Regions from separate parts of the Homo sapiens genome. Here region 2 is linked to region 1. Evidence: promoter capture Hi-C in human tissues and cell types (Jung and others, 2019). All regions are on one chromosome and are shown on one strand. Each heading gives the region's core, a stretch centred on a gene start or on the middle of the fragment in contact. The rest is flanking DNA. Distances are from core to core; before and after follow the strand shown. Region 1 holds the start of KCNH8 (potassium voltage-gated channel subfamily H member 8). Region 2 overlaps KCNH8 (potassium voltage-gated channel subfamily H member 8).

Region 1 (2,798 bases), core at 201-2,700:
GCATAAGTCCAAGACTTGCTTCCCACCCAAAGATAAGACTGTGTATTTAGACTACTGGAGTGGAAATGAAATTAGTATTGCTCTCCCATATCAGCTCCAAGAAATATACAGAGTAAAAGCAATGACACTTGAACCACTAAGAAGGACTTTAGGATAAATGAGTTTCTCTGAGTCTCAACAGAAAAATGGAAGACAGTGCACAGAAGCAAGATAAGCTAGAAAGAAGATGAGGATATTCGTAGTGAAACCAACTGAGAGCATTTGTTAGGGGTGGTAGTACAGACTCCTAATTACAGGGTTAAAGCCAGCTAGGAAGATCCACAGGGTCAAGTAGAGAGCTTGAAAAGCCTGAGAAGGAGTGGGGACCTGACCGTGGTCCTGAAAGAGAACAACTTGCAGATGATAACGAACCGTCTGCTAGCAACCACACAACATCCTATCTATTTTTTTTCCTACTGTAGCTTAAATGAGCTAAATGTCCAATAATATTCGTACTCAAAAAAAAAAAACTAAAAACTTTCTCTTATCATCAAATCGTCTTTATTCATGTCCTTCTTCCTGAACAGCCTCTGCTTGAGTGTTAGGCTCATTTAAGGATTAAAAGATACGCTATTCTAGCTCAAAAGCAGGAATCAAGGTTCTGACAAACTCACAACACTTAAAATTCTACAGAAAGCTTACACTTGGCAATCCTGCATTTCTTAAACTCAGATAGAAAATCATACCTATCCGAAATATATCACGGAATGAAGCTCCAAGAAAGAACACTCCAAGCTCTCCTTTTGATCTAGGGAGCCTTGAAACTCTAGAAAGATTAGGTACACCGATATTCCCCTTTTCACCTCAGAAAATTACAACCAATTCCCTAAAGATACACCAAAATGCAGGTCCCACAGTGAATACGGGCGTCGGTCTTTCCTCAGGCTGCGTTTCAGTCCTTAACAAACCCAAGAACTCAAGAGAGCCAACTATTACACCAATACAAAGTGTTAATACTACACCAAACCATGAGGGAACAAATTTCTCCGCACAAAAGATACCTTGGCAAGAACAGAAGAAAATTCACTCCGCTGGTGCAAAAGGGAAGGTGGGAGCAAAAGTAATGTGTACGAGAAAAATCAGTCTCAGAAAATGCCATACCACTCGTTCAAGTGTAAGACTTACGTGTTCCGTCAAAACGGGTGGCGATGGTGTCCAGGAAGGTGTTTTGCGGCGCCAGTAATCCTTTCATAACCGGCATTTTTCCAGCGTGGTGTGAAATTCTCCATCAAAGTTTGTCCAGAAGGATGGTTCGAAAGGAAAGTGCCAAGAAGGGAGAAGGGGAACCTGATGACGGCAGGGAAGGGGGACCCGGCCTGACGGCGGGGCCGAGCAGGGGAAGTGGAAGGATGGAGGGAGAAAGGGAGAGAGTTCCAGCCGCCCCGGCTGTGGCAGGAGGAGCCCCAAGAGCGCTCCCCGAGCCCGCCCCGCACCTCCAGGCTCAGCCCGGCGCAGGCTCCCTCTCCCGCCCCCTCCACCCCCGCCAGCTGCTGAAACCCCCCCACCGTCCCTCCGCGGGCAACAGTGCCCGCCAGGCGCCGCCGCGCGGTGCCTCGCCCCCCACGTCGCCCGCCCGGAAAGAGCCCGCAGTGGCCCGGGGCGCCGCGCCCTGACCGACGTCTCTGGGGTCTGGGAGGGCGGCGCTGAGAGCTGGGAGAGGCGCTGAGCCTCCCGGTCTCCACGGGACGCCGGGAAAGGAGAGCGAGCGCAACTCCCACGCCCCGGGAGCCAGTGAACAAAGACCCCTTTGTTCCCTCTCCGTCCCACTCCCGGGGAGACTGGAGTCCCGTGGGTGTGGTATTGGAGAAAGGGAGGAGACAGGTCGGGGCAGGTATCCGGCCTCAACCTAGAACTTAGGAGGGGGAGGCCCCCCAGTGGTGTCCAAGGGAGCAGAGGCAGCCAGGAGCCCCACGGGGAGGCGGCCCCCTTCCGGAGCACTTGCCATTGCGAGCCCACGCGACAGGGGCAGGGCAGCCCGAGTTAGTTGTGAGGCCCATCCCCAGTCACCAGGGTCTTTTAGTCCGGGAAACTGGCCCCGAGCTCCAAAAAGGGGTGCTTCAGCCCTTCTCCCCAAATTGCCATTGGCCTCCCCAAGCCATCCCAAACTTTAAAAAAATAGCCTTTTGAACGGACAATGGATGGTTTCCCATTCTCCGGTAAAATGTGAATAAAGCATTTCTAGAAAAGTTTGCTATTTTTATTAATTTGCAAAATACCACGTAAGTAAAAACAGTAAGGCTGCCTTCCAAAAATAGCTTCAAACACAAATCCCCTAGCCTGCCCCCCTTTCCCCAGCCCCCACTCCCGAAGACTGACACCTCCAAGAAGAAAGCCTGGCGGACGGCCAGGAACTGAAGGCGTCTCAGAAAACGAAAGTGGTCTCTCCCAGTCCTCCCCCCTGGCCCCCCCCGCGGGGACTCCCTCTCGGCCAACGTTCTGCGGGGAAAGTCGCCCAAGCCTGCGGCACAGCCCTGTGGGGAGTGCAAGGGGACACCCAGAGCCCGAACTTTATAGAAAACTCTGCAAGGGAGGTGGAGTGTGGAAGGGAAGTTGAGAGCCCCAGGGTAGAAAAACAAACGTAAGCCCAGGTGCTAGTGCACCCGGAAGGAAAGGAGGGAAAAAGCAAACAGGTGTCAGAGCCGCGGCGAGGCAGCTCTGATCTCCAGGAACTCGGGCGTGGCGGGAGGAGGGAGGGAGGGCCCACCCCCCGCCCCCTTACTAAGGGGGTTTCTTGTTTCAATTATCTCGGCTGTTGGGGC
Region 2 (2,798 bases), core at 150-2,649, 49 kb before region 1:
TGTCCGTGCAAAATATATCCTTACTTCTATAATATTAAAATGAGGCAAAACAGAATCACAATAGTCTGAAAAAGTTATTGATGACTTATTTTAGAAACTCAAATCTGCACACATTCTCTATTGGCTGTAGGAAAGGGTCCAAATCTTTTTTTTAAACGGCAGGATGGACCTCTGTGACTTCTCCAGCTTTATTTTGTACCACAGCCAAACCTGAACCCACTGCGGTTGTCTTGCACTGCAATGTTGGTTCCGCCTTGTTTGCTCTACTTGCTTGGTTGGAATAATACCCCATTTTTACCACCCAACTCCTCCAGTTCAAGGCTTAAGCATTACTTCCTTCAAGAAACCACCACTATCTTACTCTCCCTCTGCATCCTGTCCCTATACATAAAGTTCAGCAATGGACTGCCCCTCTTTATTCATTTATTAATTTTTCTGTACTGGGTGTTAAATGCTCTGAAGATTGGAATGGTTATTTGTCCATTATGAATCAATAGGTTTTATCTCTATGTCAGGCACATGACGAATACTCAATAAATGTTTGCAATTGGAGACCTATAAAAAATTATAACATGCTAGAATTATTGCAGCAGTCCTTAATCCAACCTTTCCGAAAACCTTTCCCACACCTTGCTGCAAACTGTTTAAACACTGCCTTTGATACACAAAACCCTGCTCAAAAGCATTTGTCAATAGCTCCTCTTTACCCAGTGATTACGCATCAGATTTGTAAAAAATACTGCACAAATTTTAAAAAATTATTTCTTTCCACAAATAACTTAAAATTTAGTTGGAAAAAAGTAAGCCAAGAAATAGTAAAATAGAAATAATATCAACAATAACAGTAAAATTTTATACAACTTTGAAGCAAATATATCTGTAAGGACTCGACATGTATTAACTTATGTAATTCCAACAACAATCCAATTACATAGGAACTCTCACGGTCTTCCTAGAGATAAAGAAACCAAACCACCGAGAATTTAGATAACTTGCCCAAGGTTGTAGAGAAAGGAAGTGGCAAAGTTGGGATTTGAAGCCAGGAAGTCCAGCTCCAAAACCTGTATTCTTAACTACTGCACTAAATTGCCTTTAAGGACATGATGCACAAATGCTTACATACCCCAAAGACAACTGTTAATATTAACTGCTAAATGTCTAAACAGACACGTGCTAACTTTTAGAGGAGGCAACAATGGCTCCAATGCCAGATAGATTTGGGGAAACTTTATGGGAGAGATAAAAATTCACTGAAAATGATTTTTCAAGGTTTATTAGGTTCAGCAAAACAGAGTACAAGAAGGCCTCATAACAGAGAAAACTAAATCCGAGAAAACAAAGATGACTAAGAATAAGGTGTGTTGCTTGTGAGATAATATTGGAGGGTATAGAGGGCAAAATTGTTGGGGGTGGATTAAATTCTGGAGTCAACAGTTCAAAATATTTCTAACTGACCATGGAAGTCACTGAGGGGAAGGACAAAGAGAAATAAAGCATTTTTTTCAGAATAATAATCTTTCAGTAGCTTGTAAAGCAAAAATCAAAGGCAACAGATTGGAGAAAATGAGCTTACTTGAACACTAATGTACAGAGTTGGACAGAAGTAATAGGACCCCTGTTTTACCTATCACTTCTTTCCTCTGTAAATCTGAATTTGGGAAATTCTGAATTTGAAGTTGGAAAATCTGGATTTAAATTCCACCTCTGCTATTTATTAGCTATGTTTACATTACTGGATACTAAAAGTGTAATATTTCCTATTTGGTAAAATCAAGTTGTTAAAGGATAATTTTTTAAAAGATAAAATCCCTCAAACAAACATAAAGCATATAGGTATCAAACATTTTATTTAACTTATTAATTAACAAGATAATCAGTCAACTAGTTGGATTTTTTTGGATTCTCAAAGGAGAATCCAGAGAACCACACAAATAGACTAAAAACTGGGTTCTTCCACGGCGGAGAAAGGAAGTCAATTTAGCCTCCACCAAGCATGATGTATTCACACATCCACAGACAATAATCACATGCACTTCTATCCACTTTCCACAGTTTACAGAGTTGTAATTATTTTAAAGACAATAAACAGTACAGAGACCTCCATATAAACATAACCAGGAAGGATGTGCTAAAGGAAATCTAGGTTTCCAATGAAGCCAAGATCTTTTTTTTTTTCATTTCAGTCTTTCACTGAGTAAAAGTACCTATCTCATTACATTGGTGCTGAGCATTAAGTGATAATACCTATGATATTGGATTAGAGCAGAAATTTGAAACTTCCGAACACATGGGATTAGATGTCACTTTTCCTCTCCTCACCTCCTAAATAGTACCTAATCCTTTTATCAATATATATGTGAACTAGAAGATTCAGAAAAAGAGTAGAACTATTTCTTTTATGAGGTTTAGGCATATGCAAGTATCCTGGCCACTTTTGGAGTGGTAGAGGAAGACAATAACTGAACAAAGGAGAGGCTTGAGTCTCTTGAAGAGAATCTGGCACAAGAAAAGAAATGTCAGCCTGGCCCAATAAGCCAGACTTGGCAACAGGGTTTTGAGTTTCAGACAGAGTACTTTCTTATAAGAAAAATAAACTAACTTGGGCTATTTTAATTTTTTTAAAAAAGGAAATGAACAAAACATACTCAGGAAGTAGATAGACAGATATTAGATTTACAGAATCTGCAAGAAGGCTAGAAGAAGATGCAAACTGAAAAAAGACCAGGACACAGGAAAGATCTTAGCTGGAGGACCAAGGAACAGGAAAATCCAATTACAAGACTGATGATTCTGAAAGA

Evidence for each region. Contacts are between HindIII fragments. The study calls those that stand out against the background at their distance.
Region 2: a contact is called between a fragment that was not itself captured here and the fragment with the promoter of KCNH8 in region 1, in 1 of the 25 tissues and cell types used here (dorsolateral prefrontal cortex).

The regions. Positions count from the first base shown.
Region 1 is chr3:19,147,162-19,149,959 of GRCh38, reverse strand. It overlaps KCNH8 (potassium voltage-gated channel subfamily H member 8), which reads right to left and starts at 1,450. Exons shown (of 16, transcript NM_144633.3): 1 at 1,165-1,450. The coding sequence starts at 1,240. RefSeq lists enhancers at 2,008-2,601, 2,602-2,798. The HindIII fragment of the contact is 8,005 bases long and covers 1-2,798 here.
Region 2 is chr3:19,195,838-19,198,635 of GRCh38, reverse strand. All of the region lies in intron 1 of KCNH8 (potassium voltage-gated channel subfamily H member 8), which reads right to left. Among named protein-coding and RNA genes, the nearest start is that of KCNH8, 49 kb to the right of the region's middle. The HindIII fragment of the contact is 6,856 bases long and covers 1-2,798 here.